5 separate regions of the Homo sapiens genome follow, and all the other regions are linked to region 1. The links are contacts of gene promoters, found by promoter capture Hi-C in blood cells and fetal thymus (Javierre and others, 2016). All regions are on one chromosome and are shown on one strand. Each heading gives the region's core, a stretch centred on a gene start or on the middle of the fragment in contact. The rest is flanking DNA. Distances are from core to core; before and after follow the strand shown.

Region 1 (5,708 bases), core at 2,320-4,819:
CCAAGGAAGCTCTGAGTGGTTATGCTAATTCAACTAAGTCATTCAGAGTACTTTTGAAAGTTTGCAAAGCTTTGTGAGTACATATGGGATCCATTTTTCCATGATCCTTCAACATAAAACTGGTCTCTTACTAGAGACCAGTTTCTCCATTGCAGCCATTTGAACTTTCCAAGGGATGCTAAACACAAATGCAGAAACAAGCAAAGAATAGATACATGTTGATTTTACAGTAAAGACAGCAGTACTTTGCTTCCTTTCTCATACTTCCAGAGGTAATTACTCCTCTGTGTTCTTTTCTCTGTACATTCCTCTCTGATGGCACCTCTCACAAACATCTGTCAGCCCCACTACACAGTGAACCCCTTAAGACAGAGATTCATTCATCTTTGTATCTGCAGTGCTTTATGTGTGATACACTGTAGGGATGCAATTAAACTTTGTTGAATCGAAACATTTTGTTTCAATGGATCAAGCTATCTTTCCACGTCACTGACTTTTCCAGTATGGATACATTTTTATTTTAAAATAGAATATTATACTCATCATTACCCCTTGTCTCACAATTCTAATATCCACAATAAGATTTTAGCAACATTTTAAAAGTTCAAACAACATCAGGTTTAAGGAAAGCACTCCCTATTAGTATTCCAGTAATTGGAGTAATTGAAACCAAATGTTTCCATTCAAATCAGTTCAGCAAAGATTAAAATTTTCCTTATTTTTCCTATCAATATCAACAGCCATAATCTGAAATGTCTTACTGAACCAATCTCCTAGGTATTTTAAAATATAACACTGGGATTTTTAGGGAAGGAAAAGTATTCTGTATGGTACTATAATGATGGATACATATCATGATACATTTGTCAAACTCATGGAATGTACAGCACCAAGAGTGAACTCTAATGTAAACTATAGATTTTAGATGATAATGCTGTGTCACTGTAGGTTCATCAATTATAACAAATATTTCACACTAACGAGGTATGGTGCTGGAGGTGGAGCTGGAGGCAAGGTGAAAGGTGGGGAGTTGTGGGAACTCTGTACTTTCCACTCAATTTTACTGTAAACCTAAAACTTCCCTAAAAATGAAGTCCATTAATTTTTCTTTAAAAAAAAAGATAACACTAAGACTACATGAAGTATTCCTTTTCCTAGAAACTCAAACCTAGATGTTTTAGCACAGTTTCAAAGAGGGAAAACTGAAACCCAGATCGTGAGACCCACTGTTTCTTCTACTGACGTTTTTGAAATCCTCTACTATTTCAACCAAAGTCATTGATTCAATAAAGTTACAATTTGACAGTTTATCTTTTCTTAGTGAAGTTTACAAAGAGGGGCCAGATAGTGGCACTCTCTTTAAAATTAATAGGGAACTTTCAATGCCCTGCCATGCACTTGTCACACTTGCTGATACAACTTGACCAAATTTGCCTTGTTCTGGAACACACAGACTTTGGGTGGATGAGCAAACAGCCTCTGAGAGAGCAGCTGCTTTATTGCATGACTAAGGTGACCTCATCAGCCAATTGTGATACAGGAATTTTGAAAGGACTCCCTCTTTCAAGAGTTTATATTTCTATTCAAGTGTGGAAGCATGCAGTTGTAAATGCTTGCGCTTCAAAATGTATATTGGGATAGGGGTAGCAAAATGTTGGGAGCATCAGAGCAGTTCCTAAATACACTACAGGCAAAAACTTATTTTGATCTCAGACCAGAGTTTCTTAACATAGTGTCAAAAAAACACATTATTTCAAAAAACTATTTTCCCTATCTAAAGAGGGTTTAGTTCTTTAACAAGTTAGGAGTCCAACATTTCCCAAACTTACTTGGCCCCATAATTTTTGCTGCTGCTCTTGTTCTTTGGAAACTGTCAGTATATTTGGATGATAATACTAGTGGGCTGTTAAAAATAATTTTTAAATCATTTTACTCTAACATAACTTACTCACAATTATTTAGAGGAGTGAGAGGATACTAGATCAACAAACATGAGCAATGTTGAAGATTTTAACAGGAAATTAAGTATGGACTGAACCACAGGAAGTATACAACCAAATGCCTTTATGTCATCTGTCTTTGAGTTTCATCGGTCTCATTAGGGTCACTTCCAAAGTGGCCAGCTCATCTCACCAGTTATCTTTCTTAATGCCTTATGTTATCTTCCCAACATAAAATGATGCTTGTTACATACAATATAATGAGCTCATTATAATGAAATTAATGACTGTGTATAAGTGAATTTTATAATATTGTAAATGTGTTTTCTTCAAATATTCTTTATCCTGACGATAGAACCAGAACAGAAAAATTAATACTCCCCTCCCTTTTATCAGCTTTACCTAATACCATCAGAAGCTTCACTAAGTAAATGCTTTTTTGTCCTTTTAAAGGAAAGTATTGTCCTTCCAGGGGTAAAATCCAAGGAGGCTTAAGTTAAACTGGGTACTCTATAAATAAGCCACACTTGTTATATAAACTTTTGAAAGCTTATATTTTACTAACTTCTCTATCCTTATAAATGATTAGTCATCTAGTTCCTTGAGTTTTGTTTGTGTTTTAAACTTTAATCTCAATTAAAGCTAAAACTGTTATCTCTCCAGAGATACTGCCAAAATGTGAAAGATCATTACCTAAGAAGTACACATTATTGGTCTATCCAAATAGACTTTTATTTTACCTTGAGCAGTTTTTCCTCTGATACTGTGACCTTGGTATCAGTATGTTTACAAATTATGTCATATTTGTATACAATTAAACATTTATTTATTTATGATTGGTTTTAATTAAACTTTATTTTTTCCTAATATGCAAAATATGCAAAAATCAAAGTTTGATATACTAGTTATATTCTTAATAAATATGAAAATAATATTAAAAACCATGCACCCCTTAAAATCATCCTATGTATTGCCAGTCGATGTCTAGCACACACCTTGGAAAATATTAACATGGAAATTTCCTGCCATGGAAATAAGGGATGAGAATTGGAGTGGGAAAATGTGAAGATAGCCTCTTATAACTTTCCCTCCTATCAGATATGTGCAAAATAATTAAACAAAAATTATTTGTTTACTTTGCCCTGCTTCCTGCAGAAAAGAAGAGAACTCTTAAAATATTTTGATCAGATGAATTTTATAGTCAAGGACTATCCAAAGCATGGAGTAAGATACAACTCTATGTGATGAATTTCTATGTGAGTTTCTATATGATAAATTAATACGCCAAATGAAACAGTTTATTGAAACATGCAACTTTTTTAAAATAAACAAACATCCTCCAGAACCAAAGACTGATGCTGTTAATGCTTTAGACATGTGACATATGTGTGTGTACCTCTGTATGTTTAATTTTCTTTCTTTCTAATCAAGTGACCTGTTCTCGTTTGGTTAAGTTTCAACCACAAGACACCACTGTATGCTTTTTTTTTTTCAAGATACACGTCACAGCACACCAAGAAAAGGGGAACTTCCAGTGTCTGTGGTAACATCACTTGATAAACAGACTCCTTTAAACAGCAAGTGCCTGTCTGCATTCTACTATATAAAGCAGCAGAGACGTTGACTAGCGCATATTTGCTAAGAGCACCATGCGCGCAGCAGCCATCTCCACTCCAAAGTTAGACAAAATGCCAGGAATGTTCTTCTCTGCTAACCCAAAGGAATTGAAAGGAACCACTCATTCACTTCTAGACGACAAAATGCAAAAAAGGAGGCCAAAGACTTTGTAAGTTTGTTCAGAGTCTCACTTTGTGAATTTTAACAAGTTATCTTTAATGGCAGAAGGATTGAGAATGAATGGAAGAGAGTGTGAGCATTTAGTTTAGCCAGATCAGAGGAGTTAATTGCCTGTTGTGAGTAATAAGTAATATTCAGCTGCATTAAAAAATAAATCTTGATATGGCATTAAATTGGGTAGGAGTTTTTCTCTACACAGGCTCATAAAAATGGGTTCTATAGCAAAATGTTGTATCAACCATTTTTAGTATTGCCTTATTCCTTAGAGAAATTTATTCTATGTCTTTTTACAAATAAAATGAATTCTGAAGAAATATGAATATTCACTTTTATGTCTTTTGTAGTGGAATGGATATGAAAGCATACCTGAGATCTATGATCCCACATCTGGAATCTGGAATGAAATCTTCCAAGTCCAAGGATGTGTAAGTACACTAATACACTAAACTATCATTATCATTTACAAGAGAAGCCTATGCATTATCTCTATATCCCAGCAAGGGATAAATACTGCGCACAGTAGACTTCATTTCTTTTAAGTAACATGCCAAATAAAATTAGACTATCAGTACCAATGTAAATTGAATACAAATGTGTACACACACATATTGGACTTTATCTATTTGGATTTTTTCAAATTTTATTGGCAGGTTTTTTTTTTCATAACTATAGTAACTCTAAGGGAAGTTTTGCATTTTGTGAATAAATTTTAACATATTTATTAGAACTACAGTTTCAGTTTGTGAAGTTATCAAAGTGTAACAGCCATTCTTATTTCATTTGTGCTTACATTTTAAAAATTGACTAATGTATGTACATTTTGTCCCCTGCAGACTTTCTGCTGCTGAAGTAATGCAATGGTCTCAATCTCTGGAAAAACTTCTTGCCAACCAAAGTAAGTATAACTATTGAATGTTTCTGGGTTCAGCTAAATACTCTAAAAAATTGAATGGCTTCACTAAATATAGTATTCTGGGTAGGATAGTATGCAAAAGGTTGTATTCTAGTTTGTCTGTAGTTACTGATAACTTCAGCATAGTATGCCTCTTAATAATGCTGACTTAGCACTCAATTCTGCCAACTCCTTTTAGACAAATTTGCCAAGACAATTAGGTATTTTCATAGATCATTATGGAGATAAAATTAAACATTGTGCTGGGATTCTGATATGTAAAAATTTTAAAAGTAAGCCAAATATTTTAATATGTACATTGCCATTTTGAAATCTGCCTAAAGAATGTATTTTTCTACACTTGGATGTAACAAGTATGATTCATTCATTCAATTAATTAAATTATCTTTCATACATTCATCATTCATCTCACCCTTATGTAGAGGACATTGTAGAGGTACCAAGGATTCAAAATCAAAGACAGTCTCTTACTGCCTTGAAGGTGGTTGAGATACATAACATAAATAATTGCATTATTATAACATGATAGTTTTTATGACATAAATATGATAGAAGGATTTTTAAGCACATATAGTCTTGTGGAGATTTTCTGATGAGAGAAGGTAAAGAATGAAATCAGCTTGCCATCCCCTTGTCTTGGGCATTACAATTCTACTGAGATTAGGACCTTTTTCAGAGGTGTAGATGAGCAGTGTGGTCTCTATCTCTAAAGAGTGAGATTATTCTTTTCTCCCCACAGACACCCTAAGGAGCTTTACTTGGGAATCACATTGTTCACTCTAGCTCAGCTGACTTTGTTTATAATTCAGCTAAACAAATAAATGGTATAGATATGGACCATAAATGGTGCCATATAAAAGTCTCAGTGAATGCTAGCAAACATAATTAGTACATCAGGCCTACAGATCATATATAGGCCTAACATTTTCTGGCTAATATAAATTAGATGGGGAAATTATATTTACTAATTATTGTGATGTTAATGCCTTTTGTCAGTGTTTGCTTTCCTAAAATACTCTCTACTCTGGCTAAGATTTGGCATATATAAAAGATGGTTT
Region 2 (5,708 bases), core at 1,592-4,091, 500 kb after region 1:
TTGTAATTTTATTGTGCCCATCTAGTTGTAATAACATTTTGCCTTTTTGTTAGGTTTCCTAAAGACAAAAAAAAATGGAGGAATCTGTAAACCAAATGCAGCCACTGAATGAGAAGCAGATAGCCAATTCTCAGGATGGATATGTATGGCAAGTCACTGACATGAATCGACTACACCGGTTCTTATGTTTCGGTTCTGAAGGTGGGACTTATTATATCAAAGAACAGAAGTTGGGCCTTGAAAATGCTGAAGCTTTAATTAGATTGATTGAAGATGGCAGAGGATGTGAAGTGATACAAGAAATAAAGTCATTTAGTCAAGAAGGCAGAACCACAAAGCAAGAGCCTATGCTCTTTGCACTTGCCATTTGTTCCCAGTGCTCCGACATAAGCACAAAACAAGCAGCATTTAAAGCTGTTTCTGAAGTTTGTCGCATTCCTACCCATCTCTTTACTTTTATCCAGTTTAAGAAAGATCTGAAGGAAAGCATGAAATGTGGCATGTGGGGTCGTGCCCTCCGGAAGGCTATAGCGGACTGGTACAATGAGAAAGGTGGCATGGCCCTTGCTCTGGCAGTTACAAAATATAAACAGAGAAATGGCTGGTCTCACAAAGATCTATTAAGATTGTCACATCTTAAACCTTCCAGTGAAGGTAAGCATAAGATCTTCATTGGGAAGAAGGGTGGGTAAGGGATATTCAATAAATAGCAAATTTTTATTTAACATAAGACAAGTGTGTAATATTTTCTAGAAATAGCCTTTTATTCTCAAAATATACATTAATTCAAATATATTTAATGCCTTCCTGGGATTACACCCCTACCACAGGCGATCCAGACATTAATAATCAAGAATCAAATGACAGGTTTATAGGTTAATATTCTGAATCTTAAAATGCCACCGTCCTAACTGGAATGCTCACCCAAGTGATTCTGGACTGTGTAAGTAGCAGGGGCAAGACTAAAAGTTGCAATAAGCCTTGGATATGGGTACAGTCACTAGAAGGAACTGCTTTTGAGTTCCAGCTTTGCCAGTTACTCATCAGATATTCAAACTTGGTCTCAGTATAATCGTTTGTAAAACTTAGGTAACTGTACACAGCTGTTCCTTAAGATTATGTATAGAAAACTACTCTGTAACCAATAAAATGCTAAGTAGAAAAGCAAAAAAAAAAAAAAAAAGTTGCAATAAGCAAATCAGCTCCTTGCCAGTAGGCGGCAGATGGCCATGCTGTACCCACTGCTCTAGCCCATTCCTTTTTTCCCTCCCCATCTTCCTAGGAACCCATCTTCCATGGAACCTAAAGGAATATACCAGATATAGTGCTGAACTTAACAATTCAGGAAGTTAATTGTCTTCAGGCAGTTAGTCAGGGGACATAATAACTTGGGGCAGTTTTTCTGTATCTATGGAAAGAGACTTTTGAAAAGTTAGTTGGCTCCGTAATAATTACTAGTCCTTTTAAGAAAAGAAATAAGAAAAACTCTTGGGCAGGAGTAATTTGAAGTGTGAAGTTCCACAAAAATCAACATGTTCAAAATTTGACTTTTTTTTTTTTTTTGCACCGGAAGTGAAACTTGAAAAGACAGCCACTCAGAAGGGTGGGTTCACATTTCAGTTCTGTGGACTTAAGCCAAGTAAGTTAAGCTGAGTTTCTGACCTTCATCTATTAAAAGGAGGGTAAGGAGAATAAGCTTACAATTATTGAGACTAAATGTCCCAGCACCTAACATGTAGTAGAAGTACACTTTGGTTCTCTATTTCTCCCTTCCACACATATTTTTATATACAGAATCTCTTCAGTAATTCCTGACTTATTTTTTAACTATAACTGGGGTTTTTCAAATGAAATGTAAATAATAAATTGCAAATATTTATATGTATAAACATTTTATTTTGATTTTATTAGATTACATGTTTTAAAATAGTTGAATAATACAGAAAAATATGATGCAGTCCTACTCTTCAAAAGAAATAACTGCATATCAGCAGTCCACAACCCTTCTGATACCAGGGACTGGTTTTGTGGAAGACAGTTTTTCCGCAGGCAGTGGGGAGGGCAGGGTGGTTTCAGAATGAAACTGTTCCACCTCAGATCATCAGGCATCAGATTCTCATAAGGAGAGCGCAACCTAGATCCCTCACATGCTCAGATCATAGTAGGATTCGTGCTCTTATGAGACTAATGCCCAGCTACTGATCTGACAGGAAGTGGAGCTCACTTGCCTGCTGCTCACCTCCTGCTGTGCAGCCCAGTTCCTAACAGGCCACGGACTGGTATCCGTGTATAGCCTGGGAGTTGAGGGCCCTTGCTGTATATCAGATGTTGTAATTTACTCCAGATTTTTCCTAAACATATATTACTGTGTTTCACTAAATTTTGTTACATGCCTTCTATGTTTCAGTAAAAAGTATATTATTGCTATTGCTATTGCTGTTTCTTTCAGGTCAGTAGAAATAGTTGCATATATACCATTGTATGACTGTAATTTATTAGCTAGTCTCTTATTGACAAGAGTTGTTTCTGGTTTTTTTATACTGTTACAAAAATACTACAATGAAAACACTTGCATAGAGTACCTACTTTCATAATGGTTAAATCCACAAACAGTATGTGAAAGGGATCAGTGTACCCACATTTGAACACTTAACTGTTGTCATTATTTTTTAATCTCTTTCAGTAGAATCATGAAAGATTCTTTGAATTTACATTTTTGGGCAGAAGCTCATCTTTGCATGTGCTGATTATATATATATATACACCTATATATTGTATAATATAGTATATATAATATATAATGTTAGTATATAGTATAGTATGTAATATATATATACCTATATACATATATATACCTATATATGTATGCATATAATTATATGTATGTATATATAATATATATGTATGTGTGTGTATATATGTATAATTATACAATTACATCATAGCCCTTTTGTCCACTTAGTTACTGTCTTTTTAACTATTGATTGTGATCACTATTCATTCAACAAATATTTATTTATTTATTTGTTGTATTTATTTTGAGATGGAGTTTCACTTTTGTCACCCAGGCTGGAGTGCAATGGCACAATCTAGGCTCACTGTAACCTCCACCTCCCAGATTCAAGCAATTCTCCTGCCTCAGCCTCCCAAGTAGCTGGGATTACAAGCTCCTGCCGCCATGCTCTGCTAATTTTTGTATTTTTAGTAGAGGCAGGGTTTCACCATGTTGGTAATGCTGGTCTCGAACTCCTGACCTCAGGTGATCCGCCTGCCTTGGCCTCCCAAAGTGCTGGGATTATAGGCATGAACCACTGTGCCTGGCCCTCAGCAAATATTTATTGAGCACCTACTATGGATAGAAACTGTTCTAAGAACTTGGGGTTCATATTAGAGGAGTTGATAATGTATTATTTATATACAGTGCATGCATTTTTTCTTCTTTTTTTTCTTTGTCTTTTTTTTTTTTGGTTGGGGGACATTTCTGGCACACTAAAGTTTTGAATTTTAATGTAGTCAAATTTATCCATGTCTTCATAGGTTTATGTTTTGTGTTAGGATTAGAAGGGCCTTTTCCAACCTAAAATATTTATCTGTGGTTTTTTCCTAACATTTTCTTGGTTAAGAAACATTATTTTTTACATTTAAATTTTTTATCCAAATATTTGATCCAACATAAGAAGGACTTAGGCATCCAGCTTTATTTATTGGTTTGTTGAGATGTGTCTTGGAAGTGTGGAGCAAGTACTAGACTAAGAGAAAGACCGCCCATTACTAGTTCTAACTGGACCAATTAGTTTCTGAACTTGTGAAAATAATTATTCTGTGCTTTGTCTTTTTGGTCTATATAATGAGGAATTAGTAGATGTTTCCTAAACTTACTTCCACACATAGGATTCTTTAATTTGAAATTGTTGAGGGCAGAACTCACAGTTGAAACCATGTTAGTAATAGCAATATCACATTGGACAGAGAATCCCTAGCATTTCAAAGCTTAAAAATTTGGAAAAACTCTAAGCTACAGAATTAATAGTATTTTAATGCCTTTAAGTGTAATGTGTATTTATAACAGACAAAACAAGTCAAAATGTGATTCAAGTCATCAGGTATGGTATTTTTATTGTGCACCCACTGCATGGCCAGCGCAATTACAGAACCGGGTAGGATAAAACTGCTTTAAGGAATTTTTATTTTCACTGGAAAAACAAAATAGAAGATATACTCACAGGAAACATTTACTCATTTAAGATGATTTTGCACCAAAATCTGGAAGATAGCAAGAGTCACAATACTTGAGAAGTTCCTGCATGTTAGTGTTAACTTTTGATCAAGTTATTTAGCATTCAAAAATAACATAATAGGCTCAGTTGGCATAGAGATGTGTTTCATGTGGCCTATACAATATTTTTGGGTAAAAATGAATTCTTTGTCATTATCTTTAAAAATCGACATAAAAACCCATATTCTGGCTTCTCTTGAAAGTAAGTTTTTTTTCTTTTGGCAGCACTAAGTCAATACGTGTCTACACCACTTGTCAGGGCACACTCTGTTCAGTCACCACACCCTAACAACTCTCTATTACATCACTGTGTTTGTTTGTTTGTTTGTTTGTTTGAGACAGAGTCTCACTCTGTTGGCCAGGCTGGAGCACAGTGGCACGATCTTGGCCCACTGTAACCTCTGCCTCCTCAGTTCAAGTGATTCTCCTGCCTCAGCCTCCTGAGTAGCTGGTATTACAGGCATGTGCCACCACGCCCAGCTAATTTTTTTTTATTATACTTTAAGTTCTAGGGTACATGTGCACAACGTGCAGGTTTGTTACATATGTATACATGTGCCATGTTGGTGTGCTGCACCCATTAACTCGTCATTTAACGTTACGTATATCTCCTAATGCTATCCCTCCCCCCTCCCCCCACCCCACAACAGGCCCTGGTGTGTGATGTTCCCCTTCCTGTGTCCATGTGTTCTCATTGTTCAATTCCCACCTATGAGTGAGAACATGCAGTGTTTCGTTTTTTGTCCTTGCGATAGTTTGCTGAGAATGATGGTTTCCAGCTTCATCCATGTCCCTACAAAGGACATGAACTCATCCTTTTTATGGCTGCATAGTATTCCATGGTGTATATGTGCCACATTTTCTTAATCCAGTCTATCATTGCTGGACATTTGGGCTGGTTCCAAGTCTTTGCTATTGTGAATAGTGCCGCAATAAACATACGTGTGCATGTGTCTTTATAGCAGCATGATTTATAATCCTTTGGGTATATACCCCGTAATGGGATTGCTTGGTCAAATGGTATTTCTAGTTCTAGATCCCTGAGGAATCGCCACACTGACTTCCACAATGGTTGAACTAGTTTACAGTCCCACCAACAGTGTAAAAGTGTTCCTGTTTCTCCACATCCTCTCCAGCACCTGTTGTTTCCTGACTTTTTAATGATCGTCATTCTAACTGATGTGAGATGGTATCTCATTGTGGTTTTGAATTGCATTTCTCTGATGGCCAGTGATGATGAGCATGTTTTCATATGTCTTTTGGCTGCATAAATGTCTTCTTTTGAGAAGTGTCTGTTCATATCCTTCGCCCACTTTTTGATGGGGTTGTTTTTTTCTTGTAAATTTGTTTGAGTTCTTTGTAGATTCTGGATATTAGCCCCTTGTCAGATGAGTAGATTGCAAAAATTTTCTCCCATTCTGTAGGTTGCCTG
Region 3 (5,708 bases), core at 1,496-3,995, 460 kb after region 1:
GACAAAGAGAGGATCCTAAAGGCAGTAAGGGAAAACAAGCAAACAATATCTAAAGGTGCTTCAATTCATCTAGCAACGGGGTTCTCAACAGAAACCATACAGGCCAGGAGGGAGTGGGATGAAATTTTCAAATTCTAAAAGAAGAAAAAAAAAACACCATCCAAGAATACTCTCTCCAGCAAAGCTATCCGTCAAATATGAATGAGAAGTAAAGTCTTTCCCATACAAAAGCTGAGAGAAGTGGCCACAACGAGACTTGTTTTATGAGAAATGCTAAGGGCACTTCTTCAATCTGAACAGAAAAAAACACTAATGCGCAAAACCAAAACATTTTAAGGTCTAAAATCCACTGGTAAAAGTAAATACACAAAGAAACCCAGAATAATATTGTCACTATGGTATGCAGTCTGCTCATAACTCTGATATAAAGCCCAAAAGACAAATCTACCCCAAACAGCAATACCAATAGCAACCTGTTGAAACAGACAATATAAGAAATACGTATATTGACAAAACACAAAGTCAAAATATAAGGGGTAAAAAGTTAAAGTGTAGAGTTTTTTTCTTTGCTTCTATTCTTTTCTTTATAATCTAAGTTGTTACCTCTTTATAATAACATGTCATATGTATATGTTTTGTAAGCTTCATGGTAACCGCAATGCAAAAACCTGTAATAGATTCACTAAAAATAAAAAACAACAAATTAAAACATACAACCTGAGAAAATTTCTTAACAACAAAGGAAGACTGTAAGAATGGAAGAGACCAATTACAAAACAACCAGAAAACAAGCAACAAAATGGGAGTAATAAGTCCTCACTTATCAATAATAACACTGAATGTAAATAGGCTCAATTCTTCAATTAAAAGGCATAGAGTCTCTGAGTTCATAAAGATATAAAACCCCATAATATGGTGGGTACAAATAACCCACCGCATCTATAAAGATATATAGACCAAAAGGGAAAGGGTGGAAGAAGATATTCTGTGCAACTGGAAACCAAAAAAAAAAAAAAAAAAAAAAAAAGAACAGGAGTACTATCCTTATATCAGATAAAATAGACTACAAAGCAAAGACTATAAAAACAGACAGAGAAGGTCACTACATAATGATAAAGGGGTCAATCTAGCAAGAGAATATAACAATTATAAATATGTATACGCCTAACACCTGAGTTCCCAAGTGTATAAATATAAAGCAAGTGTTTATAGATCTAAAGCAAATACTACTATCTACTCTCTCTGACAGATCATGCAAACAGAAAACCAACAAAGAAACATCAGAGGTTAACTACAGACTAAACCAAATAAACCTAACTGACATTTACAGAACATTTCACCCAACTGCTGCAAAATACACATTATTTTCACTATTTTCATCAGCATATGGATATCCAGCATACACCGAGGATAGACCATGTTAGTCCACAAAACAAGTTCTCAATAAATCACTGAATAATATGATTTATAGTAAAATAACATACCAAGTTTCTCTTCAGACCACAATGGAATAAAACTAGAAATCAATAATAGAAACCTTGGAAACTACACAAACACATAGAGATTAAACAACATGTTACTAAATGATGAATAGGCCAATAAAGAAAATAAGAAAAAAATTTAAAATGCATTGAAACAAATAAAAATGGAAATACAGCATACCAAAATCTATGAGATATGGCAAAAGCATACTAAGAGGGAAATTCATAGCGAAAATATCAAAAAAGTAGAAAGACTCCAAATAAACCACCTAATTATATACCCCAAGGAACTAGAAAAGCAGGAACAAACCAAACCCAAAATTATTAGAAGGAAAGAAATAATAAAGATCAGAGCAGAAATCAATGAAATCGAGACTTAAAAAAACAATATTAAGATCAAGGAAATGAAAAATCTTCAGGAAAGGTAAACAAAATTGACAAACCTTTACCCAGGCTAAGAAAAAAGAAAGACGATCCAAATAAATAAAATCAGAAACAAAAAAGGACACATAACATCTGAAATCACAGTAATACAAAGAATCATTAGAAACTATTATGAACAGCTATATACAAAAAAATTGGAAAACCTAGAAATGGACAAATTCCTAGATACATACAACCTACCAAGACTGAACCAGGAAGGAATAAAAAAATCTAAAGAATCTAATAACAAGTAATGAGATCAGAGCCATAATTAAAAGTAAAGCAAAGCCCAGGATGTGACAACTTCATTACTAAATTCTACTCAACATTTAAAGAAGAATGAATGCTAATTTTACTCAAACTCTTCAAAAAAATTGAAGAAGAAGGAATGCTTTCCAACCCATTCTACAAAATCAGCATTATTCTGATACCAAAACCAGGCAAGGACACAACAAAAAAACTACAGACCAGTATCACTGATGATAATAGATGCAAAAATCTTCAACCAAATAGTAACAAACCAAATTCAAAAGTAACAAACCAAATTAAATAATACCACATTAAAAAGATTATTTACCTAATGGGTGCAGCACACCAACATGGCACATGTATACATATGTAACAAACCAAACCTGCACGTTGTGCACATGTACCCTAGAACTTAAAGTATTAAAAAAAAAAAAAAAAAAAAGGTCATTTACCTTGATTAAGTAAGAGTCATCCAGGGATGCAAGATGGTTCAATATGTGCTAATCAATAAATGTGATACCAAGAAAAAAACTACCTAATTATTTCAACAGATGCTGAAAAAGCATTTGATAAAATTTAACATGCCTTTATGACAAAAACCCTCAATACACTGGATATGGAAGGTACATACCTCAACACAATAACAGCCACATAAAACAGACTCACAGCTAATATCATACTGAATTTAAAAAAAGTTAAAGTCTTAGGCCGGGCACCGTGGCTCACGCCTGTAATCACAGCACTTTGGGAGGCCGAGGCGGGCAGATTACGAGGTCAGGAGATCAAGACCATCCTGGCTAACACGGTGAAACCCTGTCTCCACTAAAAATACAAAAAATTAGCTGGGCATGGTGGCGGACGCCTGTAGTCCCAGCTACTCGGGAGGCTGAGGCAGGAGAATGGCGTGAACCGGGAGGCGGAGCTTGCAGTGAGCCGAGATCGCGCCACTGCACTCCAGCCTGGGCGACAGAGTGAGACTTCATCTCAAAAAAAAAAAAAAAAACCACAGTCTTTCCTCTAAGATCAGGAACAAGACAAGGATGATCATTTTTACCATTTTATTCAACGTAATATTGCAAGTCCTGCCTAGAGCAACCAGGCAAGAGAAGGAAATAAAAGGCATCCAAACTGGAAAGGAAGAAATAAAATTAGCACTGTTCATAGCTGACATAATCTTAGAAAAACCTAAAGACCACCAAAAAACTCTTGGAACTGATAAACGAGTTCAGTAAAGTTGCAGGATATAACCAAGCACAGTAGCTCACACCTGTAATCTCAGCACTTTGGGAGGCTGAGGCAGGAGGAATGCTTGAGCCCAGGAGTTTAAGACCAGCTGGTCAACATAATGAGACCCTGTCTCTACAGAAAATTCTAAAAATTAGCCACCTGTGCTAGTGCACACTTGTAGTCTTAGCTACTCGGGAGGCTGAGGCAGGAGGATTGCTTGAGCCCAGGAGCACAAGGTTATAGTGAGCTATGATTGTGCTACTTCACTCCAGACAGAGCAAGACCCTGTCTCAAAAACAAAAAAGTTGAAGAATATAAAATCAGCATACAAAAATCAGCTGCTATTATATATGCCAACAGTGAATCTGAAAAAGAAATTAAGAAAAAAATCCTATTTAAAAGAGCTACAAAGAATATAAAGTAGGCCAGGTGCAGTGGCTCAAGCCTGTAATCCCAGTACTTTGGGAGCCCAAGGCGGGCAGATCACTTGAGGCCAACCTGGCCTCAAGTTTGAGACCAACCTGGCCAACATGGCAAAATCCTATCTCTACTAAAAATACAAAAATTAGCCTGGCATGGTGGCACATGCCTGTAATCCCAGCTACTCAGGAGGCTGAGGCACAAGAATAGCTTGAACCTGGGAGGCAAGGTGGAGATGAGCCAAGATCGTGCCACTACATTCCAGCCTGGGTGACCTAGTGAGACTATGTCTCAAAAAAAAAATAATAATCTAAAATACCTAAGAATCAATTTTACCAAAGAAGTGCAAGATCTATACAAGGACAAGTATAAAGCACTGATGAAGAGTTCACCAAAAACTGGATATTCCATCCTCATGAACTGGAAGAATTAATATTGTTAAAATGACAATTCTACTGAAAGCAATGGACAGATTCAATGCACTCCCTATCAAAATACCAACGGCATTCTTCATAGAAACAGAAAAAGCAATCCCAAAATTTATACGGAACACAAAAGACCCGAGATGGCCAAAGCAATCCTGAGCAAAAAGAACTAAACTGGAAGAATCACATTATCTGACTTCAAAATAGACTACAAAGCTATAATAACCAAATCAACAGGATTCTAGCATAAATACAGACACATAGACCAATGGAACAGAATAGAGAATCCAGATATAACTCCATGCATTTACAGATAAATCATTTTCAACAAAGGTGCCAAGAATATACAATAGAGAAAGGGTAGTTCCTCCAATAAATGGTTCTGGGAAAACTGGATAACCATTGCAGAAAAAAGAAACTAGATCCCAGTGTCCCACCGTACACAAAAATCAAATCAAAATGGATTAAAGACTTAAATATAAGACTTGAAATTATGAAGCTACTATAAGAAAACATTGGGGAAAATCTCCAGAACACTGGTCGGGGCAAAAATTTTTTAGTAAGACCTCAAAAAGCACAGACAACAAAAGCAAAAATAAATGAATAGGATTACATCAAACTAAGAAGCTTCTGCATAACAAAGGAACCAATCAACAAAGTAAAGCGACAACCCACAGAATGGGAGAAAATATTTGCAAACTACCCATCTTATAAAGGATTAACGACCAGGATATATAAGAAGCTCAAGCAACTCAACAGGAGAAGATAAAAAAAATCAGATTTAAAAATGGACAGAAGATCTGAATAGACATTTCTCAAAAGACATACAAATGGCCAACAGGTATATAAAAAAATACTCAACATCATTAATCATCAGAGCAATGCAAATCAAAACCGCAATGTTATCATCTCACCCAAGTTAAAATGGCTTTTAACAAAAAGGGAATGACAGATAAGTGGTGAGGATGTGGAGAAAGGGGAACCCTCATAAACACTATTGGTAGAAATGTAAATTAGTATAGCTACTATGGAAAACTGTATGGAGGTTATGCAAAACTAAAAAATGAACTATTGTATAATCCAGCAATCCACTACTGGGTATACAGATCCGAAAGAAGGGAAATAAATATATCAAAGAGATATCTGCACTCCTTGTTTTTATTATGGCACTATTAATAATAGCCAAAATATATAATCAACTTAAGTGTCCATCAATGGATGAATGGATAAAGAAAATGTAGTATATACATACAATGTGAGATTATTCAGCCATAAAAAAGAATGAAATCCTGTTATTTGGAGCAATATGGAAATGGAGGTCATTATGTTAAATGAAATAAGCCAAGCACAGAAAGACAAATATCTCATGTTCTCACTCACATGTGAAAGCTAAAACAGCAAATCTTCAGGATAGAAAGTAGACTGATGGTTGCCAGAGGCTGGGAAGGGTGGGGTGGTGAAGAGGATGAAGGGAGTTTCATTA
Region 4 (5,708 bases), core at 2,000-4,499, 420 kb after region 1:
TTCATATACTTACACTGGCTTGTAATTATATGTTTGTGACTGTGACTCATGTATCTCAATCTCACCCAGTTTACTGAATGGTAAGCTCCGTGAAGACAAAAAACACGTCTGTTGTTTTTACCATTATATGTCCAGAAACTCACTAACCACCCGACACTTAGTATTGGGTAATAAATATTACTTGGTAATAAATATTTATTAAATGACCTGATCCACAGGACATTGTCCTCATCACTACAACCAGATAAATATCCTTATTCTTTTTTTTTTTTTTTCGTCAGTAGAGGTTTTACTACTTGACTCAAGTAAGGAGGCCATGGGGAGTATTCTCCAAAGCAGTGTCTCTCTGAGGCAAAGTGACAGGAGGGTTTTCTGAGGCCATGGAGAGGGGAGAGGGTGCGTCACCACATGTAGAGGAGGGAGTTTCAGTGGCACACATGCACTGAGCCGTTCTGCCAGTATAAGGTCTCATGAGATGGTCATGAGCTATAGCTCCTCCCTGAGTGGAGATTTTAGCATCGTCATGTCAGGGGCCTTTGAACAAGCACAACTCCCATCTTGAAGGGGGGCTGGGTAAAATGAGGCTGAGACCCACTGGGCTGAATTTCCAGGAGGTTAGGTATTTTAAGTCATAGGAGGTCCGCACAGATACAAGTCATAGAGACCTTGCTGATAAAACAGGTTGTGGTTAAAGAAGGCGGCCGAATCCCACCAAAACCAAGATGGTTTTGACAAGTGACATCTGGTTGATGCGAGTAACATCTGGTTGTCCTCACTGCTGATTATACACTAATTATAATACATTAGCATGCTAAAGGACACTCCCAGGACCACCATGACACTTTACAGATGCCATGGCAATGTCAGGAAGTTACCCTATATGGTCTAAAAAGGAGAGGAACCCTCAGTTCTGGGAATTCCTCCCCCTTCCTTGGAAAACTCATGAGTAATCCTCCCCTTGTTTACCATATAATCAAGAAATAACTATAAGTATCCAGGCTGGACATGGTGGCTCACACCTGTAATCCTAGAACTTTGGGAGGTCAAGGCAGGTGAATCACTTGAGGCCAGGATTTCAAGACCAGCTTAGGCAACATGGCGAAACCCCATCTCTACTAAAAATACAAAAATGTAGCTGGGCATGGTGGCACACTTGTAGTCCTACTTGGGAGGCTGAGGCAGGAGGATTGCTTGAACCCGGGAGGTGAAGGTTGCAGTGAGCTGAGATCGTGCCACTGCACTCCAGTCTAGGTGACAGAGTGAGACTTTATCTCAAAAAAAAAAAAAAAAAAAAACAAGGCCAGTGCCGTGGCTCATGCCTGTAATCCCAGCACTTTGAGAGGCTGAGGCAGGTGGATCACTTGAGGTCAGGCATTCGAGACCAGCCTAGCCAACATGGTGAAACCCTGTTTCTACTAAAAATACAAAAAATTAGCCAGGTGTGGTGGTGCATGCCTGTAATCTCAGCTACTCGGGAGGCTGAGGCTAGAGAATTGCTTGAACCTGGGAGGCAGAGGTAGTAGTGAGCCAAGATCATGCCACTGCACTCCAGCCTGGGTGACAGAGTGAGACTCCGTCTCAAACAAACAAACAAAGAGCTGGTTTAAAGAAAGAAGGTCACCGCATTCCACCCGGGATTTGGGGAAGAAGAGGCTGCCTAGCAGTAGGCTGTAAACTAGGCTGATTGCTCAAGTTGATTGGATTCCTGTAATCCCGGGAGACTCTACCTGTCTGCCTACAGAGATTTGAACTCGCTTAGATAAGCAGCTGGCTGCACCCACAGTTCACAAGGAAAACTCACATTCAGAAGGCAAAACACATTCCCAAGCTTGGGCTGAAATGGAGCCCCAGAGCAGATCCAGCCCCATTGCCAAGGCAGGGACGTGTAAGAATTTAACTCTGGGAAGTTAACATGCCCACCTCTCCCTCACAGTGTGGAAATACCCCCTCCTTCAAGACTTCAAGACTTTCATTTTCATCTGAAAGGGTCTCTCACCCACAGAGTCAACTTAAGGTTCTGACATATGAACACTGTCAAATTCATAAACCTTTCTCCAGGAGGCAATCCAAACAAGTCTTTGTCTAAGCACAAACTTCACAGACTTTATATATATATATTTTTTTAGAAACGGGGTCCTGCTCTGTCACCCAGGCTGGAGTGCAGTGGCAGGATCATAGTTCACTATAGTCTTGAATTCCTAGGCCCAAGCGATCCCCTGGCCCCAGCTTCCTGAGCAGCTGGGACCACAGGCACCCACCACCACACCACACCTGGCTAATTTGTTTGCATTCCTTCAGAGACAAGGGGTCTTGCCATGTTGCCCAGGCTGGGCTCAAACTCCCGGGCTCAAGTGATCCTCCCACCTCAGCTTCCCAAAGTGCTGGGATTACAGGTGTGAGCCACCACACCCAAGCCACAGATTTTCTTAAGGGATATGAAGACTGTTCTTCACGGTGCTGCATGTTATATATTCTGTAAAAAGACATGTAAAACACGTATCTAGTCCGGGCATGATGGCTCATGCCTGCAATCCCAGCATCTCTGGAAGCAGAGGCGCGCAGACCACATGAGGCCAGGAGTCTGAGACCAGCCCAACCAACATGGTGAAACCCCATCTCTACTAAAAATACAAAAATTAGCTGGGCATGGTGGTGCACACCTGTAATCTCAGCCACTTGGGAGGCCGAGGAAGGAGAATCACCTGAACTCAGGAGGCAGAAGTTTCAGTGAGCCAAGTTCATGCCACTGCACTCCAGCCTGGGGGACAAAGCGAGATTCCATCTCAAAAATAATAATAATAATAAATAGAGTAATTGTTAAAATTGAAAACGTTCCTGTATTTTCCAGACTACTAACATTTCCATCCAGTGTGCATTCTTCAATTTACATCGTCCATCTCCACAATACCCAGCCTTCTTATGTTGCCCAGGCTGGTCTCAAACTCCTGGGCTCAGGTGATCCCCCTGCCTCAGCCTCCAAAAGCACTGTCTGCGCCTGGCTAAATGAGTTTTTTTCATGTTGTCAAAGGCAATTTAAAAAAGTAAAGACTTTACCACATTGTTTAGAGTCAAAGGGTTTTTCTCTAGTGTGAGTCATTTCATGTCTCCTCAGGGAACTGCCACATCCGAAGGCCATACCACACCTTTTACAGTCATATGGCTTTTCTCAACTATGAGTTTTTTCATGTCTTCGAAAACAACTGGGATAATTGAAGGTTTTACCACGTTTATTACATTCATAAGGTCTCTCTCCAGCATGAGCTCTTTCATGTGCTTGAAGGGACATGGGACATCTAAGACTTGGTCACATTTTTGACGTTCATAGAGTTTTCCTCCACTATGGGTCCTTTCATGTCTGCGAAGGGAACTGGAACGACTGAGTTTCTTCCCACATTCCTGACATTGGTGGGATTTCTCCAGCGTGAGTTCTGATTTCATGTGTCTGAACGTAAGTTGTACCACATTCTTTACATTTGTGAGGTTTTTCTCCAGGATGACATGAATTTGAAATAAAGTGGGATAATCAAAAGGTTCTCCACAGTATTTACATTCATAGCGGTTTTCTCCAGTGTGCATTTTTCCATGTTTTCGAAAGTAACTGGAAATAGTAAAGGCTCTCATGATTTTCCTACATTTATAGGCCGTCTCTCCAGTGCGAGTTCTTTCATGAATTTGAAATAAATTGGGAGAATTAAGGGCTTTCCCGCACACCCTGCATTCATAAGGTTTCTTTTGAGTTGGTGTTACTGTGCGCCTTGGACCACTATTGGGGGAAATGGAGGCTTTCCCACATTGTTTCTGTTTACAGGGCTTCTCTCCCCATTCCCCATCACACTGGTAGCGTTTCTGTCTGGCGTGAGCTCTCATGTCCCTGTCCAGGAATGAATGACAGAGGAAGACTTTCCCACACACGCTGCATTTGCATGGTTTTACCCCAGTATGACTTTTCTTCTTCAGGTGACAATCAGGAATCTGGCTGAAGGGTTCACCATGTTGACTCCCTTCTTTATGTCCACAGAATCTCTCACCCAGACTTTGACAGAGGCCAGGTTCCTGAGGGTTTCCAGCATCACATCTCTGTAGAGATTCTTCTGGGAAGGACTCAGCAAAGCCCACTCCTCCTGGGTGAAGTTCATAGCCACATCTTCAAAGGCCACTGAGTCCATTTCCGGCTTCTGGGTGTCCTGGGTCCTCCCTGGGGCTGGAGCAGCCGGAGCAGGTTCCACGTGACAGAAGCTGTGGTATCTGGACACCAGGGGCCTCCCCAAGGAACTGAAACCCGGACCCGAGTGGGGCCCATGCCTAAATATCCTTATTCTTATGCCATCAATATCACTGCTCCTCCTTCTTATTGATAGGAAAATTGGATGGTAGAAAAGCATTAGAAATAAGATTTCAGCTTTCCTTAGACTCCAACATTTCTTAATATCAGAAACTATTACAAATGAATAACAAAAATATTAACATACCAAAAGAAAAATAAGTATATCACAGGTACTTCATTAAAAAAGAAATATAAGTGGCCACTAAACACACAAAAGATTAACTCCACTAGTAATCAAGGAACATAAAAACACAAAGAACACTACTACTGTAGAGATAACAACTACAAGTTATTTTTCTATTTTTCTTGAAATTCGTATTTCTGAAAAATAATTGTTAACCAGTAGTAAAGCTTGAAAATTTTTACACTGTAGAAATGAACAGAGAAGAAATTTCAGTGTCTAGTAATGCTGGCCCAGTAGCCGACTAAATCTCCTGCTTAAAACAACTTTTTAAAAATAAGATGAAATAAAGAACAAGGTACAAATAAGATAGTATGGAATTACCAGGCCACAGAGAAGAGAAAAGAACAACCAAGAGAATCAAGGGAATATGAAAGATGTGTTTGCATCTACCAAACTCTGAAATTTTAAACTTTCATTTTTACAACCTCTCAGGTCAAAAGGAATAGAAATCAAAGCTCTGTCTCTCACAAAATAACAGTCTGTTTGGAGACCCTCACTACAAAGAAAAAAAAAAAAACACTGGGACTCCAAAAGACTACATATTTAGGATTAGGGACAACAATACTTAAACCAGCCTTTCAACCATAGTCTTGTTGTCCAGGTTTTCATCACTTGTGTCAGCCAGGAAACCTCAGGTCTTCAACATAGATTAAGGGTATCCCAAACTTGCTGAGACTTCAGCTCCCTGGTATAAGGAACGTAAGTCTTCTTTGGAGGAAGGTACCTTTATCTTAGCCTCAAAATATTCCTACAAACAATTTCTCAAGACCATTAGATAAGAAGGTGCACATGCATACACACACACACGCACACGCTTGCACACACACACAAAGACAACTTGAGAAAACCACAAAAATAAAAAACAGATCCTTTAAGACTTTATTTTTATTTTTTGAGACAGGATCTCACTCGTGTTGCCCAGGCTCGAGTACAGTGATGCAATCTTGGCTCACTGCAACCTCCGCCTCCCAGGTTCAAGTAATTCTCCTGCCTCAGCCTCCCAAGTAGCTGGGACTACAGGTACACGCCACCATGCGTGGCTGATTTTTGTATTTTTAGTAGAGATGGGGTCTTGCCATGTTGGCCAAGGTGGTCTCAAACTCCTGGCTTCAAGTGATCCACCCACCTCTGCCTCCCAAAGTGCTGGGGCTACAGGCTTGAGCCACTGCGCCCGGACTGGATCCTTTAAGACTTTAGATA
Region 5 (5,708 bases), core at 1,124-3,623, 300 kb after region 1:
ATATATACTTGTTTTGCTTCATTTTTTTTCAGAATTCAAGATGCAATGCTTGATTTGGTTTATTAGTCACATCAAAAAATAAAATTAAGTAAGTGATCCTGTTTCACACAATTCCTGGCTCTTATACTCAGTAGTTTTGCTATTTTCCTGTTTTCAACTTTTCTTGATGAGTTACATACTGGAAGTAATTATTGCTTCAGATGAAATTGCTTCAGACCATTTCCAAAATGACTTATGTAACATTCCTCACTTCTTTTGATTGAAAAAAAATCATTGTTTTCAAGGGTGTATAAGAAAAATGTAGCAGAAAATCTCTCCACATCAGTTTACCTAGTCTAGCATCCACCCAGGGTTGAAATTCAAATTGTCTTTTGGGTCATTCAGTCTCCACTCTAGCAAACTTATTTTTGAGAAGCCGTAGGAGATTTTAACTCATCTCTTCCTTGCTTGCTTCATTTAAACAAAATTTTTGAGACAGGGAATCTCCGTACCCACTCCTGGCTACTCAGAGCCACCCTGGCTGCAGCTTGTATCTTGTGCATCCCAAATCCATCAAAATGACTCAGTATGTGGTCCTCATAATTGGTGCCACCATCGGATAACTAGTCTTTGCTCAGAAATTAAAGGTTGGTAACGGCTCATTGTAATCAGGCAGCATATTAGAAAGAGCTGTGTGTCTGGAATCAGAAAATAGTTTCATAATCTTGCACCACCACTAGCCAAGTTATCCTGGCAAGTTATTTCAAGCCTTTCTGAACCTCCATTTTAACAGTGTAGCTCAACGTTATTGAGCACCTATCATGAGACACTAATCTAGGTACTTGGGATACAAAAGTAATTGAAAATGCCCTGGTCAATGCGCTTGAGTAGTTTATCAATATTGGATGAAACAGAAAAGTATTACAATATGATTTGTAAAGATATTTTTTGCAGGGAGAGAATGAAAATACAATTGTCTTCCAGAGTTCTTTGTTTCTCTCAAAAATATTAAGCTTTGGTAGCACCTCTCAGAAAAGGCAAGTTCCCCTCTTACTGGAACTTGAAAGTCTTTTGACTTTTTCTCATTAATTCTTCTTAGTCCTAGTTTAAAGATATTGTATGAAGTAGTTAGAAAAAAACATGCACATTAAGCATCCTTTAGGGATTTTGCTGCTGGTTTAGGAAAGATTTGCAAGCCCTATATTAAGTCCCTGCTGTGTTGGGTGTAGGTCAAAAGTTAAGTGGATAAGAATATCTAACCTAAGTATTGAAAGCGAATGAGGAATCATCTGACCCCCTCACTTATTTACAGGTAAGGAAATGGAGGTTGGAGAGGTCAAATGGCTCACCCAAAGCCACACAGCCAGTGAGTGGCTGAGTAGATGCAAAGCTGGATACTGACTTTTCCTCATTCTCTCATTCATTCCTTTAATGAACACTCATAGAGTATCTAATGCATACAAATTGTGCAAAACACTTCAGGGAATTTCTTCATGTATGAGACAGGCTCTCTGCTCTTCTCCTTCAATCTAATGCTGAATGTTAGCAGCTCTTTATGTCAGAGATGAAGAGATAGTTGGAAGATTGTCTATCTGAAGAGATGAGTTGAACAAAATTAAAAAGTCTGGATTAATGTGAAGTACACAAGGTGACATGAGTCCTCAGGGTAATACGATTAACGAGCCATCGCATATTGGTAGAATCTAATGAATATTCACGCTCTAATCAAAATAGTAGCTCGGTTGAGTGAGGATAAGTGACCTGAACTGTGCCTTTGATCTTAATCTTAGGGAAAAAGAAGACAGAAAAGCAGCAGCAGGGAAATAGCTTTCTAAACAAAGGATTAAGGAAAAGGCTTAGAAAATTAGCTGCTGTCAATTGACAAAAAATGGGAAGGAGGCTTATCTTGTGGGTCCTGTATTTCCTTGAGAGGTTATTTGGAGGTTCTAGCAGGGGAGTGCAGTTACTTGTATATCCTTGACCAAAGACCAGTCCTCTCTTGGAAATGGTCCTCCCCTTTGACCAAGCATGCAGCTTCAGAAGGGATGCACATGGAGCAACGAGGAAGGAAGGGGAGACTCACCTAGGTAGCCAGAGCAGCCAAATCAACCCTGACAATCAATGGCATGAAAGATTGTTGCAGCCAGATCGCCCTCACATGCAAGGTCCTCTATTTCCTTTACAGACCTTGACTGTAATGGAATTGTATTAGAATTCCAATTAAAATCAGCTCTCCTTTAGGGAAAAAAAGAGGTAGATGAGAAGAAAAAAATAATAATCTCTGTGAATACTTTATTATGGTGCATATTGAACTATTCCTGGATGTGTTTCAGTAGATTCCACTGTCAAGTACAGCCAGTGGGAGGGTCAGTAACAACTCACTTTTCAACACTAAGCAACTGGATTCCAACCAGAAATCCTAACTGAAAGATGTGTCCGTTGCTCCATGGATCTTTGACTATTAGAATCTCTTTAAGAACTTTCCCTCTGGTTGCAGGAGACAAAGAAGAGATAATCACAGCTATCCATTTCAGTACAAGACTGCTTGAGATGCTGTCATTTTCTTCAAATCCCAGAAACTGTCAATTTGTGAGTTGCTATTTTTCTACCTAAATCTTACTTTGAAACTAGGATTGGTCACTTCACGCTACATACTGCCCAGTTTCTTTATTTTTTAAAAATTTTATCTTTGATTCTTTTGTTTTTATTTTCTTATTGTGTGCCTTCAAGCAGATATAACCAGGACACACTGCCTGATTTCCTTATGATAAATGGTCACAATGAAAAGAACAAAGCACCCTGGCAAGAGTCTTGGTGAATACCAACCAGTGTGTTGGTTGTCCATACACCATGTCAAGTGGCTGCAGAATTCCCACAGTGTGTTCAGAGGGCTTGAAGGCAAGTACTCTGGGTACTGAGACTCTCCCAGGCCCTGGACAATTTTGCTGCTGAAAACTCATAGTGGACCATGAGTTGCAGAGAACTCATGTGGCATTTTCCCAGCCCTTGAAATAGGTTGGTTGCTCTCCAGCTGTGATGTCTCCGAACAGCTCATGGAACTAAACCAGACTTAAAGTCTGTTGTATACCATCTGTCACATGATAAAATAACCTAATGTAGAAGTAAGGGCCATAAGTGTGTTTTATCTTATATGAATTCCTGCTTTTCCAGTCACTGCCAGGCAGGATATTAATATACCTGTCTTCTTTTCTAAGGAAATTTGTACTTGAAGGGAAGAAATATGCACAATTTGGTTTCATATAAATATTCAAAGTTAATCCTTCCATAATGCAAATAGAAAGAGTGTGACAATATTAATCCCATTTCTAAAAAATTACCTTTGATGAATGCCTTTGAACCACTAGGGTTGTTTTGAGTCTCTTTGGGGAGAAAAAAAAAGTATGCCTAGAATAAAGCACATCAGGCTTCTTAGCTGCAACAAAATCATCCACAGTTGTAGGAATCTGTTGAGGTAGTTCAAGCCCAGGAACAGGTTTTCAGAAATGAGATGCAGGGTTTATAGTGTAGCCTATAAATTTCCAGTGCAGTTCTTGAAGATACACCAAATTCAGTGACTATATTTCGGCTCTAAATCATATAGAAACAGGCAGTGGCATGATTTCCACCTTATCTTCATCCAGATCTCCAATGAAAACAAGAATTGCAAGAGTACATATTATTTATTTGTTTTTTCGGGGGGTTGGAAGATCTTTGCTATTTCATTTTTTTATTTAAACTGGAGCTTGGGGAACCTCCTAGGAGTTCAGCTACCAGTCAAGCTTTGGGCTGAAGCAAGCTGAACTGAGCCCTCTTTCCTAATATGTTTAGTTCCTCAGACTAGACACATTCTGTGCACAAACAAACCATGAGAAAAGGGCACTAGTGGTTTACCACAAAGCAGATTGGGCCAATTACCATAATGCAAGTTTACTAGGCAAAGACCACAGAGGTGACTGACTCCTGCTTCTGTATGTGGCCCTTCTCACTACTTTATGACAAGATAACTATAAAGAATTTAGACTATTTTAGGGGCAGTCAGGCTAGTCTCATTGCCTTCTTCACTGTTCTAAACAATTCCAATGTGTGGATGAGACAGGAGCTTTCCTAGTCACCCAGTCTACTACAGGTATTCCTCATAGTAACTTCATTGTTTAATTCAACCTGGATCATGGAGGTAACATAATGCACTGGAGTCAGACAGTCTGAATTCAAATTCTGAACTCAACTCCTTACTCGCTGTGCAACTTTGATCAATATACTTAAAATTCTCAGAGCTTTCTCTTTTTCATCTGCAGTTCAATTCTGTTAAATCCAGTGCATTTTGAATCAGTAAGTACTTATGAGATACACAAACTGTGCTGGACAAAAAGCTACAAAGCTACAGAATCAGTATGGTCCAGGCTTGATGAGTTGGGGAGAGCCGCAGAAGCCATGTCAGGTGGCTCCAGAATTCCCATAGCATATTCAGAGGGCTCAAAAGCAAGCACTCTGGGTACTGGGACTCTTCAGGGCCCAGGACAGTTTTGCTGCTGAAAATCCACAGTGGACCATGAGTTGCAGAGAATTCACATGGCATTTTCCCAGTCCTTGAGAGAGCCCAGTTGCTCTCCAGCTGTGATGTCCCAGAACAGCCCACGGAACTAAACCAGACAGCCCAAGAGGAAACTTGCCAAGAGCTTCTGCCAAGTTTGGAAAAGCTCAGACCTAGACTCTCCTCTAGAAACCACAATGTCTTTCTCTTTTGAGAAGAAGAAATTAGTAAGGGGGCCTAAGGACAAGGGAACTTGGCAAGGAAGCAAAGGGCATCCATAGGAGGATCTCCCCTTTGGATGTACAGAAAATCCTCCTCCCAGGGGAAAAGAGAAGCACATCATACTGACAGGCAAGAGCCCTGGGATTGATTTCTCTGCCACTGGCCACTGTGGGAACCTCAGTCACTGTTTTCTCATTGGTCCAAAAGTAGGGTTAAACCAGATTACTGTTCAGGTTCCCGACATACCCTAAACTATGCTATGCCCAGCTTCCATCAACTCCCAGCAAATAATCATTCTAACACGTGTTCCTTCCAAATGAACATTGAGCAGGCCCCATATGTAGACTTGCTGAAGAGAAGATCATTGACAGCAGAATCATCATGAAGCCTGCCAGAAATGAACCCAGCTACACTCTAACACAAGAAAATCCAAAATTTTCTCCTCTGCTATGTTGTCTTGCTAAAACAGAACAAGAAATTCCATGGTCCAAATCTCTGGCAAGAGAAAAATGCCTTCCTTGAAATTAGCCCCCTCTCCTCTCCTAAGGCCTATCACAGGGACCTTGTAGCTTGCTTGGCTCTAGAGGAAGGGATCTGAAGACCTCTTGGGAAGTCTGTGAACCAAGTGCATCAGTGTGGGGCAAGGTTGAACCCCAGAGGCAAGGAATAAGAAAAACAGGTAAGAGCCAGACAGTTACCTGGGTCCTAGCTTGGCCTCTGTGGGCTTTTGGACAAATTACTTTGATTCTCTAAGTGTTGGTTGATTCTCCCTCCCCACCTCACAGGATTATTGGGCGGGTAACTATGATAGTCATTAGGGCTCTTTATGAGTATTCTGGTAACTATTTTCCTTGCAGCCATTTGGTAAAATTGTACTTTCCATCCCACCTCTCCCCAGCAAAAAATAAAGCATGGGCATGTGATTTGGTTTGCTCATGAAATGGGAAAAGCAGCTCGTGTCACTGCTGAGCAGAAG

What was found. Contacts are between HindIII fragments. The CHiCAGO score rates a contact against its expected background, and 5 or more counts as called.
Region 2: a fragment that was not itself captured here is called in contact with the fragment with the promoter of RGS1 in region 1 in 5 of 17 cell types (neutrophils, M2 macrophages, fetal thymus and 2 more); the score reaches 11.9 in neutrophils.
Region 3: a contact is called between a fragment that was not itself captured here and the fragment with the promoter of RGS1 in region 1, in 6 of 17 cell types (M0 macrophages, neutrophils, megakaryocytes and 3 more). The highest score is 10.9, in M0 macrophages.
Region 4: a fragment that was not itself captured here is called in contact with the fragment with the promoter of RGS1 in region 1 in 1 of 17 cell types (naive B cells); the score reaches 5.3 in naive B cells.
Region 5: a contact is called between a fragment that was not itself captured here and the fragment with the promoter of RGS1 in region 1, in 2 of 17 cell types (M0 macrophages and M2 macrophages). The highest score is 7.2, in M0 macrophages.

What each region holds. Positions count from the first base shown.
Region 1 is chr1:192,572,204-192,577,911 of GRCh38, forward strand. RGS1 (regulator of G protein signaling 1) reads left to right here and starts at 3,570. Exons shown (of 5, transcript NM_002922.4): 1 at 3,570-3,726; 2 at 4,082-4,162; 3 at 4,571-4,632. The coding sequence starts at 3,590. All of the region lies in intron 3 of LOC105371664 (a long non-coding RNA gene), which reads right to left. RefSeq lists an enhancer at 3,415-3,494. The HindIII fragment of the contact is 3,705 bases long and covers 2,488-5,708 here.
Region 2 is chr1:193,068,981-193,074,688 of GRCh38, forward strand. It overlaps RO60 (Ro60, Y RNA binding protein), which reads left to right. Exons shown (of 9, transcript NM_001173524.2): 2 at 54-654. The coding sequence starts at 75. Among named protein-coding and RNA genes, the nearest start is that of RO60, 12 kb to the left of the region's middle. The HindIII fragment of the contact is 2,294 bases long and covers 1,695-3,988 here.
Region 3 is chr1:193,035,316-193,041,023 of GRCh38, forward strand. The region is part of intron 3 of UCHL5 (ubiquitin C-terminal hydrolase L5); the gene reads right to left. Among named protein-coding and RNA genes, the nearest start is that of UCHL5, 21 kb to the right of the region's middle. The HindIII fragment of the contact is 4,210 bases long and covers 641-4,850 here.
Region 4 is chr1:192,990,512-192,996,219 of GRCh38, forward strand. It overlaps the pseudogene ZNF101P2. Among named protein-coding and RNA genes, the nearest start is that of RGS2-AS1, 45 kb to the left of the region's middle. The HindIII fragment of the contact is 2,847 bases long and covers 1,827-4,673 here.
Region 5 is chr1:192,873,845-192,879,552 of GRCh38, forward strand. It overlaps the pseudogene RN7SKP126. Among named protein-coding and RNA genes, the nearest start is that of RGS2, 68 kb to the left of the region's middle. The HindIII fragment of the contact is 2,766 bases long and covers 991-3,756 here.